3 separate regions of the Homo sapiens genome follow, and regions 1 and 3 are each linked to region 2. Evidence: promoter capture Hi-C in human tissues and cell types (Jung and others, 2019). All regions are on one chromosome and are shown on one strand. Each heading gives the region's core, a stretch centred on a gene start or on the middle of the fragment in contact. The rest is flanking DNA. Distances are from core to core; before and after follow the strand shown. Region 1 has its middle 210 kb from the start of LINC02458. Region 2 holds the start of KITLG (KIT ligand). Region 3 has its middle 200 kb from the start of KITLG.

The links. Contacts are between HindIII fragments. The study calls those that stand out against the background at their distance.
Region 1: a contact is called between a fragment that was not itself captured here and the fragment with the promoter of KITLG in region 2, in 1 of the 25 tissues and cell types used here (H1 embryonic stem cells).
Region 3: a fragment that was not itself captured here is called in contact with the fragment with the promoter of KITLG in region 2 in 2 of the 25 tissues and cell types used here (H1 embryonic stem cells and heart right ventricle).

What each region holds. Positions count from the first base shown.
Region 1 is chr12:88,806,130-88,810,984 of GRCh38, reverse strand. No RefSeq gene overlaps it. Among named protein-coding and RNA genes, the nearest start is that of LINC02458, 210 kb to the left of the region's middle. The HindIII fragment of the contact is 9,769 bases long and covers 1-4,855 here.
Region 2 is chr12:88,578,360-88,583,193 of GRCh38, reverse strand. KITLG (KIT ligand) reads left to right here and starts at 2,723. Exons shown (of 10, transcript NM_000899.5): 1 at 2,723-2,930. The coding sequence starts at 2,916. LOC105369885 (a long non-coding RNA gene) reads right to left here and starts at 2,658. Exons shown (of 4, transcript NR_188177.1): 1 at 2,584-2,658; 2 at 1,056-1,197. It also overlaps the pseudogene RNU1-117P. The HindIII fragment of the contact is 2,929 bases long and covers 481-3,409 here.
Region 3 is chr12:88,777,306-88,781,814 of GRCh38, reverse strand. No RefSeq gene overlaps it. Among named protein-coding and RNA genes, the nearest start is that of KITLG, 200 kb to the right of the region's middle. The HindIII fragment of the contact is 3,763 bases long and covers 747-4,509 here.

The DNA.
Region 1 (4,855 bases), core at 2,100-4,599, 230 kb before region 2:
TTTTGACTTGTGAAGAAGAATGAGCACCAGGATGCTGGTGAGATCCACAGTTGCAGCTGATGAATAAGTGGTGGCTGGACCTCCTTCTGTCCCTCTGAGCACTGCCTCTGCACTCTTGCAATGCAAGCCTGGTGTCTAACTGTGAAGCAGATAAGACCAACTCTCACTATTCCTCACAATAACAACAACAAAAGATGTAGTCAAGACTAAAACAGTTATCACGTTAATTATTTTTATTATACTTTAGGTCCTGGAATACATGTGCAGAACGTACAGGTTTGTTACATAGGTATACATGTGCCATGGTGGTTGGCTGCACCCATCAACCCATCATCTGCATTAGGTATTTATCCTAATGCTATCCCTCCCTAAACCACCCACCCTTGACAGGCCCTTCTGTGTGATGTTCCCCTCCCTGTGTCCATGTGTTCTCATTGTTCACCTCCCACTTATGAGTGAGAACATGCAGAGTTTGGTTTCCTGTTCTTGTGTTAGCTGGCTGAGAATGATGATTTCCAACTTCATCCATGTCCCTGCAAAGGAAATGAACTCATCCTTTTTATGGCTCCACAGTATTCCATGGTGTATATGTGACACATTTTCTTTATCCAGCCTATCATTGATGGGCATTTGGGTTGGTTTCAAGTCTTTGCTATTGTGAACAGTGCTGTTAAAAACATATGTGTGCATGTGTCTTTATAGTAGAATGATTTATAATCCTTTGGGTATGTACTCAGTAATGGGATTGCTGGGTCAAGTGGTATTTCTGGTTCTAAATCCTTGAGGAATCACCACACTGTCTTCCACAATGGTTGACCTAATTTACACTCCCACCAACAATGTAAAACTGTTTCTATTTCTCCACATCCTCTCCAGCATCTGTTGTTTCCTGACTTTTTAATGATCACCATTCTAACTGGCGTGAGATGGTATCTCATTGTGGTTTTGATTTGCATTTCCCTAGTGACCAGTGATGATCAGCTTTTTTTCTGTTTGTTGGCTGCATAAATGTCTTCTTTTGAGAAGTGCCTGTTCATATCCTTTGCCAACTTTTTGATGGGGTTGTTTGATTTTTTTTCTTGTAAATTTGTTTAAATTCTTTGTAGATTCTGGATTTTAGCCCTTTGTCAGATGCATAGGTTGCAAAAAATTTTCTCCCATTCTGTAGGTTGCCTGTTCACTCTGCTGATAGTTTCGTTTGCTGTGCAGAAACTCTTTAGTTAATTGGATCCCATTTGTCAATTTTGGCTTTTGTTGCCATTGGTTTTGATGTTTTAGTCATGAAGTCTTTGCCCATGCCTATGTCCTGAATGGTATTGCCTAGGTTTTCTTCTAGGGTTTTTATGGTTTTAGGTCTAACATTTAAGTCTTTAATCCATCTTGAATTAATTTTTGTATAAGGTGTAAGGAAGGGGTCCAGTTTCAGTTTTCTGCATATCGCTAGCCAGTTTTCCCAGCACCATCACAAAACTATAGATTATACTAAGATAAATTATGGTTTAGACTGCTAATTGATGGCTTTACAGCATAGTAGCATCTCACATGGAATAAACTTTAATCTCAGTGCTTAAAATAAAAATAAAGGATTGAGTGTGGTGTAATCCCAGAATTTTGGGAAGCTGAGGTAGGAGAATCACTTGAGGTCAGAAATTTGAGACCAGCCTGGGCAACAAAGCAAGATCTCATCTCTACACACACATTCACAAAAATTGTCTCGGTGTGGTGGTGCACTTCTAGTCCCAGCTACTTAGGAGCCTGAGGCAGGAGGATTGCTTGAGCCCAGGAGGTGCAGTCTGCACTGAGCCATGATAGTGCCAACTGTAGTCCAGCCTGGGAGACAGAATGCAACACTGTATTTACAAACAAAATTAAGTTTAATTAAAATAGAAAAAATAATGCCCTTGAAAATGACCTTCAAATACAGTATGGTACTGGCTTTCAATAAGTTCAATACAATTGTTCCTCCAGCCTTAGAATAAAGCTCTGTTTCTTTCGTTAAGCACCAGGTGATAGCTGGCTTGCATGGAAGGCACTTAAGGACCATGCTGTAAAAAAAAAATATGTACTGCATATTTATAAATGAAGATCACACTCACCGTAGCAAGATACTCTCACTTAGGCAGAAGTTAGATAACTTGGGAAACAACAGATTCACGTTGTTCATTTCATGTTCACTCACAGCCATAAATTCATCCCGAGGACAGAGGACAAAATCAAATGATGTCTTTTTCTCTCTGTCTCCTACATATGTATAATTGAATTTAAATTACATAAGCATACCTGCTGCTCTGCTGTAATATTTGCTAGATGACTTCAGTACACTAGATCCTTTAACATCTATAAACAATCTTTTCACAAACATGTTCGAGAGTTAGACTTAATTTTACTAAGAGGTTTTTTTAATCCATTAAAACAAACAAACAAAGAGGCCGTCCCCCCTACCACCCCCACAAGGAATTTGGCAGAGCTATTGCCCAAATTGTGTTAGGAGCATAACAATGATACCAAAAGAAAAACTGTGGAGCCAAAATATCCAAACTAGTTATTTGCTTGGGCCTTTTAACACAGCTGTGATACACAACAAGAATCTGGAAACATATGCCTCTCTCCGATATGGAGATGGAAGGGGACTAGAAGGAAGAGATGGAACAAAGCAGTATGACCATATTGAATGCACTAATTGGTGCTATACATGCTGAAATTCAATTATATTGGTAATTGAGGTAGAAAGATTTTCTGAGTAGACACAAAAGCAGAATTTCCCAACCAACACAGCTTTAGACTATATCAAACCTCTGTTTTACACAGTAAACCAGTAAACAAATATTTTGCTGGCAGAAATTCTACTTAATCTATGCAGATATACAGCAGGTGAATCAATCATGAAATGGGCTCTAAGATCAATAATTAAAACTGAAAAATGAGCCAGCCAGGTACCATGGCTCATACCTGTAATCCTAGCACTTTGGGAGGCCAAGGAGAGCAGATTGCTTGAGCTCGTGAGTTCGAAACCGTCTCTACTAAATATATAAAAATTAGCTGGGCATGGTGGTGCATGCCTGTAGTTCCAGCTACTTGAGGGGATGAGGCAGGAAGATCGCTTGAATCTGGGATGTTGAGGCTGCATTGAGCCAATACTGCACCACTGCACTCCAGCCTGGGTGACAAAGTGGGACGCTGTCTCAAAAAAAAAAGGAAAAAAAAAATTGAAAAAATGAACATTTTTTCTTCTGGAGGATGGACGCACTATATGGACGTTTATAAATAGACTCATTGATTTCTATGGAAATAAAAATCAAAAGAGAGTATGTATTTGAGGCAAACTGGGGAAAATGCATCCCAACTTTATCCCAGGCCTACACTGACTTTTGATATCTTCATAGGCTCACTATTTTTTTCTATTATTTAAAATATTTAACACACTCTTGCCAAAATGTGTTTGAGGAAAATGTATAGTCTAAGATTCTGAAAAATGAGGAGAAAATAAAAAAATAAGGGAAGAAAAAAAGGCGGTGTGGCAGGGTGTCTTAGATGCAATTAAAATACACTAAGGAAATTGTGAAAAAGTTGTAATAAACTGGTAGTGCATTAAAGTCATATGGTTATATTTTAAAGAATACCACACATTTTTTAAAACCACAAAAAGATAAGTCTAAAATAATGATGAGCAGCTAATTTTATCTGTGTGTGTGTGTGGAAACCATGGCACTTATTAAAATAATTACCCGAGAACCTCAAACTGGTGTTTACTTTATAAAATATATGCAATCTTTGTAGTGATATCTAGGTGTAACAAATTAGTTGGATTGTAAAAAGCCCTCAATTCAGAGTTCTATTAGTAATTTATTAAGTCCTAAATTGCAAGTACATAGATTACTTCACGCATTTCTAAATCTGATGTTAGGGCTGAATTATGATGAATCAGGTTTTATTTGGGGATTTTGTGAACAGAGCAAAAAGTCTTTTCACATAGATGACACAAAGAATCTACTCCCAAGGGAGTTTTAAAATTCTACCCATCATTTAATACAAAAAAGCAGGCTCTCTAGACAATCCATCTCCCCACAGAAAAACAGAAAGAAAGGGAAAGAAAGAGATACGGAGACATTTGGGAATATTTTTAAGAACTACTCATCCCTAGAAACTTTAGTGAAAATTTTGAGAAATTGAATATGGTGCATTCTTTACTGTTGGTGGCAACATTGTACCTCTTGCCACCTTCAAACAAAGTTGTAATCAATAAGAAATAATTGAATATTAAGGCCAGGGGTGGTGGCTCACACCTGTAATCCCAGCACTTTGGGAAGCTGAGGCAGGCGGATCACCTGAGGCCAGGAGTTCGATACCAGCCTGACCAACATGGCGAAACCCTATCTCTACTAAAAATACAAGAAACATTAGCTGGGCGTGGTGGTGTGTGCCTGTAGTCCTAGCTACTCGGGAGGCTGAGGCATGAGAACTGCTTGAACCTGGGAGGGGGAGGTTGCAGTGATCCGAGATTGCGCCATTGCACTCCAGCCTGGGTGACAGAGCAATACTCTGTCTCAAAAAAAAAAAAAAAAAGTTGAATATTTATTTAAGTACTGATTTGTTTGAATAGTGGGTATGCATGTATTCTCTCAATTGATTTGTTTGGTTTTGAGCTAATATTACTTTAACCACCCTCCACCCCAATTGTATAGATAAGGAAACTGTGTTTCAGAAAAGTTCAGTTCTTTGGAGAGCTTCTTTGTATTCTTCTGCTTCTAAATTGTTAGCCACAGAGAAAGTAACAAAGATAAACTATTCCTACTTATTCCTAGACCCGGATTTTAAGTTTCATCTTATTTGTAGAGAGCAAATGTTTTCTTCCTTT
Region 2 (4,834 bases), core at 1,474-3,973:
GAACTGAGAGGGAAAAAAAATGGAAAGAGGGAGAAAGAGAGAGGAGAATGAGAATGCATTGTAGGAGATGAACGTAGCATGTATTATTGAGTTGAATGAAAAGAAATTGAACTGAATTTCTGTTAGGAACACTGCCTTGTTTCTTTAAACCTGGTACAACAAATTAGGCCATTCCTTTCTATTGGTCTCATAAAATCCGTATGGTTAGATTTATGATTCCCAGGCTTCAGTAACTCTCATACCATTTTGATTATTTTTGTCGTATCTGTCCTCCTTTAGTACTACTTGTTATTTACTTAATGTTATACATGAAAGTGAGTTTATATTGACACTAAATATTTCTTTTCTTGGGGGGAAAATGGTGGTAAAGGGGTACAAAGTTTTAGTTAGACAGGATGAATAAGTTCTGGAGATTTATTGTACAGCATGATAACTACAGTTAATGTACTGTATACAGTTAACCCTTGAACAACACAGGTTTGAACTGTATGGGTCTACTTATATGCAATTTTTTTTTCAAACTCAGATGGAAAATACAGTGTTCTAGAGATGTAAAACCCATGTATAAGCAGGGCTGACTTTTGTGTCTGCACGTTCTGCAGGGTTGACTGTGGGACTTGAATATATGTAGATTTTGGTATACCTGAAAGGTCTAGGAATCAATCCCCTGAATATACTGAGGTACTCCAAAACTACAAAGAGTAGATGTTAAATACTCTCAGCTCCCAAAAATGATGAGTATGTGAGGTGATGGATATACTATTTAGCCTGATTTAATAATTTCACAATGTATACATAAGCAGAACATCACATTGTACGTGGTAAATAGATACTATTTTTGTCAAATATAACTTAATAAAGCTGGAGAAAAAAAATAAAATTCTCCACTTCAAAAAAGCCTTAAAGGGGCCGGGTGCAGTGGCTCACGCCTGTAATCCCAGCACTTTGGAAGGCTGAGGCAGGCGGATCACCTGAGGTCAGGAGTTCGAGACCAGCCTGGCCAAAATGGTGAAACCCCGTCTCTACTAAAACAACAACAACAACAACAAAAATACCTGGGCGTGGTGGTGGGCACCTGTAATCCCAGCTACTTGTGAGACTGAGGCGGGATAATCGCTTAAACCTGGGAGGCGGAGGCTGCATTGAGCCGAGATTGCGTCATTGCACTTCAGCCTGGGAGACAGAGCGAGATTCCATCTAAAAAATAAAAAATAAAAATAAATCTTGAAGAAAAAAAAAACAATCATTTGCTATGCCTCCAGTATCCAAATTAAGCTCATTTTGATATTTGATGTTCGATATATTTGTACTAAGAGTACCTAATGTATAAAAATCTTTCTAAGCAACTATCAACTTGGAATCATGATTGATGTGCTGTCTATACATATTTTTTCTAACATGAGAAAGTGAGAACGCAGTCCCCCACTAAATTATGCAGTCGAGTTTCCCACATTTGGGGAAATCACAGAAGTCAGCACATCTGGAGTGAAATAAACAAGCTTCGCCCTGATTACAGGTTTGGCATATTCATGTTTAACAAACGCACCGGAACTAATTAAAGCAAATTTGGACTCCTACTCTATTATTAAAATAACTAATTCCTAAACTCATACATTATTCTTTCTTTTAAAGATCACTGATGTTAATGTTCAGCTAATATTTTCTTTTAAAAAATTAATGAAATGCTTTGGAATGTTCTCCAGTTATACAAACAAAAACAGACACATTCTGGAGAATCAATAAAATATTTGAAGTATTTTTTAAGACTGTACAGCTGGAGCTCCAGGTTTAAATTAGAGCTCTGCCATTTACTAGATATGGTTGGTCAAGAAAATTAACCTTGTATTTCATCGTCCATAAAATGGGAATAAAATAATAAGATCTACACTAATAGATTTGATGAAAGAATTTAATGAGATAATCTATGCGAAGTTCTTAGTCTGGCACCTGGCACATGAATAAGTGCATCACATAATGATGTTAGCTATTATTATTGTGGTTGCATTATCTTTCCGTTCAAAAAAGTACAACTTTCAAAGCCTTGCTGTGTTGGCGACCTGTAGTTTAATAATCTATCGCTTCTCTTTCAATCTTAATTTCTAAAGACACAGTAACAAACCATTCCAAATGAAGCGTCTCCCCTTGCAATACTTAACCTTGAGTCAACAATTCTTGTAATTATTAAATATTCATTCACTAAAGTAATTGTTTTTTTTAAAAAATAGAGGTGATAGGACAATGGCCTAACTACAGATCGCAATTAAACTTTATTTCTCTAAGGCAGGCAGGGTGAATTCTTTGCTCCGAACCTCCCGGACTCCTCTCCCTCTCCGACTTTGTATAACAGAGGGAGCTCCGAGCCCTCTCTGGCGCGCGAGGTATTTCGTCTGTCCCCGGGGGTGCCAGGTGAGCCCCAGCGGATCCGGGAGGGTAAGCTGGGACTCCTCGCGAGCAGTAGCTGCAGGGTACCAAGCTTCGCCCTCTGCGTCCCCGCGCCTTCGCGGTCTCCCGCCAGTGCAGGTCCGGGGCCCCCAGGCGAGCGGACAAGGTTGGCCTAATCTGCCAAACTTCTGGGGCATTTACCGTGCTCTGGCCGCCCTCCCGATTCTTCCCTCCGCGCCCTTGCCTGCTTCTCGCCTACCCCGGGCTCCGGAAGGGAAGGAGGCGTGTCCGGAGCAGGCGGGCGGGAACTGTATAAAAGCGCCGGCGGCTCAGCAGCCGGGCTTCGCTCGCCGCCTCGCGCCGAGACTAGAAGCGCTGCGGGAAGCAGGGACAGTGGAGAGGGCGCTGCGCTCGGGCTACCCAATGCGTGGACTATCTGCCGCCGCTGTTCGTGCAATATGCTGGAGCTCCAGAACAGCTAAACGGAGTCGCCACACCACTGTTTGTGCTGGATCGCAGCGCTGCCTTTCCTTATGAAGAAGACACAAGTGAGTAGGGCGCGCCCGGGAGCTCCCAGGCTCTCCAGGAAAAATCGCGCCCGGTGCCCCGGGGAAGCCGGCGCTCCCTGGGACTTGCAGCTGGGGCGTGCAGGGCTGTGCCTGCCGGGTGAGACAAGAGGATGCGGGGGAGGCCGGCGTGGTGTGTGATCCCGAGCCGAGCCGGGTGAGCCAGGGAGAAAAGGAGTGGGAGTGCTGAGAGGGAGCCAGTGTCAAGTTTGGAGCCTCAGCAGTTAAGTTTTGAGCTGTCAGTCGGAAACCGTAATTCCCGTCTGGTGGAAAGATTGGCTTTTGGGCCATGGAATGTTAAGTTATCACGGGAAGGCATGTCTTTGCATAGGAGACGGTTTTCCCGTGGATTCCAGGAGATTATGAAACAGCACCCCACGCGCCACCCTCACTAGCTCTCTCACTCAGATTTATTTGTGTAGCCCCGAGGTGGGCGCCGGGCACCAGGAGCGGCGCGAACGCGGGTGCAGCCGCGGGAGCGAAGCCAACGCGGAACTCCTAAGCGGCAGCTCTCGGCGGGGCGGGAACCTGCCCGCCTGCCCGGGAAACTTGGCTCTCGGCGGTGTCTGCCTAGTTTGCAGCTCTGTGTGGGCTCTAAAGAGCTCTAGTACCTCCACAATGCACGCACCTTTTTCCATTTCAAAAGGGATAAAGGCTTTTTATAAAATAGGCACCTCTGAATGATAGTGATTGAGATAATTCCCAGTGCTGCTAAATTCTGCATTATACATAAAGCACTGTGGGTAAAGCGCTGCCTGGGGGGACAATTAGATTTTTTTTTCCCTTGAAGAAAATACCTGGTTCTTCGTTTAGAAAGGGCCGCCACGGTGCCCCTATCCACAGTTCTCTTCACCATTGTTGATTGTTACCTCCTCTCACTTTCCCCCTTAGAAATTGTTATGTGTTATCTGCCGCGGTTGGCTAAGGGTTGCCCTTTCACCCCCCAGAGGTTCTGTTGGAGATTGCAGTTCCTGAAATGTGTGGAAGGGGTGGAAGTGGTGGGGAAAAAGGAAACCGGGGTGTTTGTACACATCGTTGGTGTAGAATGAAGGCATCAATGTGCTCAAAATGCTTTATCAAATGACCTGCTTAGCATCATATTTTAAACAGATATCTAGGCCTGCAAAAAGTTGCAAGACTCTAGCCCCTTGTACCGGTGTGGTAAAAGGCAGGGGAAAGGGACATTGCCTGGCTAAAAGAGGCTTGCATAGTCTCTAGAGCACTCTCTAAGAGAAAAGACGCGATGTGCCTCTCCCCTCTCTTACAAGCAGGTTAGCTTTCAGGCAAGGCATTGAGCACCGCACCTGGAATCACCACAGCGTGCTGTCGAAATGCAAATGTTAAAGATTCTTGCAACAAAAGAAAAGTTTTATTGTAATCTCTTGATTTAGACAAGCTTTCTGCGAAATTATAAGAAGGGTAGAGACCTATTCCTTCTTATAGTAGCATCTGCTCCCATGGATGGTGGTGAGATCTGGGGGAAGAAGCTGCTACCTTCTAGTTCAGGAAAAGAGCCTAAACCTTCCTATTTAAACAAGAACACAGGAGACAGATAAGGTTAATGTCCAACACTCCAAAGCCAGGGGATGTACTATCAAGTCACTTTGAGAGGCAGTAGGATTGATTATCCTTGCACCCTTGCTTTGCAAAACAAATGTGAGCTCTGTAATCTCCTTTCTCGCTTTGATTAAATGGCTGTGTAAATCGGATTACATGGAATAATTCCATTGAAAACTAGAAAGAGGTCAATCTAGTCTGAAACATTGTGACTGTGGCATTAGTGACTCAGTGCTGCCGACCAGAGAAATTTGAGAAAGCTAAGTATTTTAGATATGTGACCTGTTCGGTCACACATCACACAAGTTAAAGTGCAGGCCCTTTGGGGG
Region 3 (4,509 bases), core at 1,379-3,878, 200 kb before region 2:
AAGCTGCTATTGATGAAGCTTATGAAGTTTAATTTCTTGATTTATCTGCACTGGCTAACTCCCATGACCGTCTATATTCTGAAGCTTAGATTAAACAGATCATGCAAGAAACACCTACATTCAGAATTTGAGAAGTCCCTTTGAAAATTCAATGGAATCCTTTGTAATAAATTTCTAAATCACATATGTGTCAGATATATTGTGGTCCAAATCCTGCCATTCCATTCATTATAAACGTTCACCTTAAAGCAGAATTTCTCTGTAAAGCTGGTAGCAATCCTTTTTCACACTTCCTGTATTATTACAGAGAGGTGCCGTTTTGTGTAACAACTTATGAGGCTGCTAGTGGTAACTTCAGTTGTAGCAGCAGTAGACTTGGGGGACAGACAAAAGATCTTGCATTTGTCTGTTGATTAAGTGATAAGCACCATCAATACGTTCACAAAGAATAGGGGAGGAAATAACACCCTGACTCAATGCTGTTGCCACCTTGGGTATGTGAATCCATTGGTATTCTTGTTAATTTGATGAAATATAAGCTCTAAATTTAGAAACTGAATATTTTCTGTTTACTTCATTACACTGTATTATATGACATTAAAGAGCAGATTAAGCAAGAAGTATGATGTTTAATATAAAAAGTACTAATATTATATTTCCAGTTAAAAAAAGGTCTTCCAAACAAGTGAAGGAATTTATATGTTGTATCAAATGTCTCCAAACACCAGAACTTCTTGATATTGTTGTGATTCTTATTAGTATGAAAAAGGATACAATTGACATAGTTCATAGTAAACGTTAAATACTCTGAAAATGCATTAGTAATAGGATTTGAATTCACTCATCAACATAAAAAGCATTAAAATATTTTGTTTTGTTTTTGAGAAATAAGGACTAGCACCAAGTCAAGAGTTATATGATACAGAGAAAAATAGCAGCCCCCCTTCAAAGGGCATATAACCTTGAGGAGATTAGATATGTGCATTAACAGTTAAATAATCGAGTGGTTGAATAAGGAGTTATAGAACATATAAAACCACAGAAAATGGATGTCATGGTGCAAATGTATGATTAAATTAAAATCTAATTAGTAGTAAAGACATTAAATGCTATGAGGTCATAGGCTACAGAGTGCATGTGTGTTGTTGTGGTCAAGAAGGCTTCATGGGGAAATGAGAAATTAAGTGGCATTAAAGTAGCAGGAGGAAATGGGCAGAGGGAGAAGCAAGGGATAGGTTTTCAGAAGGGGAGAGGGAGACGTAGAGGGAGGTTACAGTAAGACTTGAGGGCAAGGAGAAGGGGGAATCCACCATTAATACCAGGCAGTGACTATATTAATCTGGACATAGTCAAACATTTATGAGGGAGAATGGTGGAAAATGGGCTGGAATGTTAGGCTGAAGAAAGCTTCGGACTCCTCCAGTTGGACCTTTATTGAAAATTTCCCCTGAATGGTAGTCTTCCACTTCCTCTCCGGGTCTCTGATGGTATATTGACTTTGGTAGAGTGTGCTGGATGTCATCAATGCCCTTGTTTGATTCATTGCCTCATATTCAGAATCAAAATGCAGAGCTTGGTACAAACTGGCTTTTACAAAAGATGCAGATGACTGCAAAATCAAAGTTTCTGGAATGTGCATCTGTTTGTCTTTTATCTCAACCGTCTGTTGGGCACTTACACTGAAACCCTGCTACTCTTCCCTCTAATCAGGTCTACAATGAAATTCTGCTTCATTCTGAATGCCTGTCTTCCCTATATTTGTTGGAGGCACTTCAAGGCAGTTCCATTATCACAGCTGCCTGAGCTGAAACTATTCTCCAATACACATAAGATGACTAAATAATTTATCATCCAAGTGAAAGGAGTGTTATCAATAATTCTTCTGGGACAACAGATATAAATTGGATGATTCTAGGGAAACAGGGCTAACAGTTACACTATTCAATTTTTCTGTCATTGTGTTCTGTCAATTCCTTATTTTAATTATCTTAATTTTTCTCCTTTTTCTCTCATTGCTTCTGTATCAATCCCCACACTGAGTTCAACTGCACCCTCTGTACTTTCTTGCTAGTCACCTGCCCCTCTCCCTTCATTCCATCCTGACACAGGCAAATGTACCTAAAACTCTATTTTGAGTGTTACTCTCTTGTTCAAGAACCTACAATGAGTCTTCAATGTTTCTCCCCAAAAGAATGAAATTTTCAGCTGAGCACAGTGGCTCACACCTGTAATCCCAGCACGTTGGGAGGCCAAGGTGGGGGGACTGCTTGAGCCCAAAAGTTTAAGACTAGCTTGGGCAGTATAGTGAGATCTTGTCTTTACAAAAAAAATTTTTTTAATTAGCCAGGTATGGTGGTGCGTACTTGTAGTCCCAGCTACTTGAGAGGCTGAGGCGGGAGGATTGCTTGAGCCCTGGAGGTCAAAGCTGTGGTGAGCCAGGATTGCACTACTGCACTCCAGCCTGGGCAACAGAATGAGACCCTGTCTCAAAAAAAGTAAATAAATAAATAAATAAACTTTTCTTTCTGGCTCTTTAGGACCAGCTTGATCTACATGTACCTACCTGTTCTTATTTTCTACTGTTCCCAACTACAGCGCTGGATTTTCAGGATTTTCCATAAATACTCTTCCTTCCTTCCTTCCTTTTTATTTATTTATTTTTGCTTTTGCAAGTACTGATTATCCACATCTACATCATGCCCTTTTATTTTTTTTCCTAATCAAGTTACTGTATAATCTTTAGAGCCTTCCCTGATACTGAACTCTTCTTTGAACTTCTTAATAATCTTACATTGAATCCTTGACAAACCACTAAGCTTTTGAGTTCATGTTTTCTTTTGCTACCATGATTTCAGGTTTGTTTTCTTAAACAATTTCTCCTTAAACTAGATTGTTAATTCCTTGAGGATACAGAATGGGGTGTCATATATCATTCACATAAGGGTATTTTTGAATATATGATGAGAGATGTGTCTTTCCCATCAAAATCTCTTCTTTTTTTTTTGAGACAGGGTGTGGCTCTGTTGCCCAGGCTGAAGTGCAGTGGGGTAATTTCAGTTCACTGCGACCTCCACTTCCTGGACTCAATCAATCTTCCCACCTCAGCCTACCCAGTAGCTGGGATCACAGGTGCAAAATCTCTTCTTATTCCACTCCTGCTTAATTTGCCCTTGACCACTTCTAAAAACCAAAAGAAGACCAAAAAAAAAATCAAGCATCTATTTTCATTTCACAAGTATCTACCCTGTAAAACCTAAAGTAATGGTATTCTCTCCCTACTAAGTGAAACAAATACATTCCAAGATGTGAGGTATTATTACTGTTCTCAGTCTTCAAAGTCTACCCAATTCAGCAGAATCATTCTCAGATGGCCACAGAGTTTGCTTTCTTATGCATAATGGATTCATATACAAAAATTTTCTGACCAGGATTATTCCTGGTAAAATGTAAATCTGGTGTTGTTCCCTGTGCTTTTATATGTTTCTATCTTTAAGCTCGAATGTAATGCCTTACATAAACCTGCATGTTTAGGGTGGAGGGGATGGTGAATTTAATTCAAATGTAATGCAAATGTAATTCCCACTACAATATAGATCTTCAGAGGCCATGAATAATATTCCTCCTGAAGCCCTCTTGTTGATTAATTCAGGGAGGGGGATTAAGGATTCAAACTGGTGTACTTAATGTGATTTAAAAATGTAAACAGTGCACTGAATGGGTGTTCTGTCTCTTGATTGGTTACCTGATATACTTCATTAGCTAATGTCCTCTTAAAAGAGGAGATGGGAGGTGAGGGGTTTATAGGTGGTATAAAATAGCAGTCCTTGGGTGTGATATTCTCTGCCTCTTCCTTTGTCTCCTTCCGTGGTCCTCTTGGCCCTGTGAAGACACACGGCCAATGCTGGAAATTGAGTCTGCTGGGCTCTCCATTTGGTTCACTGGCCTGGCTGTTTACCATCAGCCTTTCTTGCCTGGTCACCTTGGTCCTTGATTCAGTGTCTGTGATCCATGGAACTTGTGATACATGGTCATACATGGTGGGTCAGAAGTTTTAAACCTCAGGAAAGTGGGGGCCACCATCCCATGTCACTGTGAGGCCATCACAAGTTGGCTCTGTTCTAGTATACCTACGTAGGTTACAGTGAAAGGCACTCCACCTTGCTGTTTCCCTCAAATTCTAGGACCTGCCTTTTTTAAAAATTTCTATTCAAGAAAGAAAGGAAGCCTTGATTTTCTACTTCTGACTTCCATTTTCTTTTCCCTATTTACCTCTGAACAGGAGAAAAATAAAGTAAGCTTTTTTTCCTCTATCTATACTCCTTCTTCCTGGTTTTAGCAGTGGACTAGGCACTCTAGGAGCTGGAGTCTCCAGGTCTGGGGCCTAGAAGTGTTTAAAGAGAACGTAACCTCCCTGCACATAAAGCCAGCCTTTCATTACAATTGTCTTACAAGGAGACCGAGTCCCAGCATTCTCCTGCCCTAAACCAGATTTAACAAAGCAAATTAATA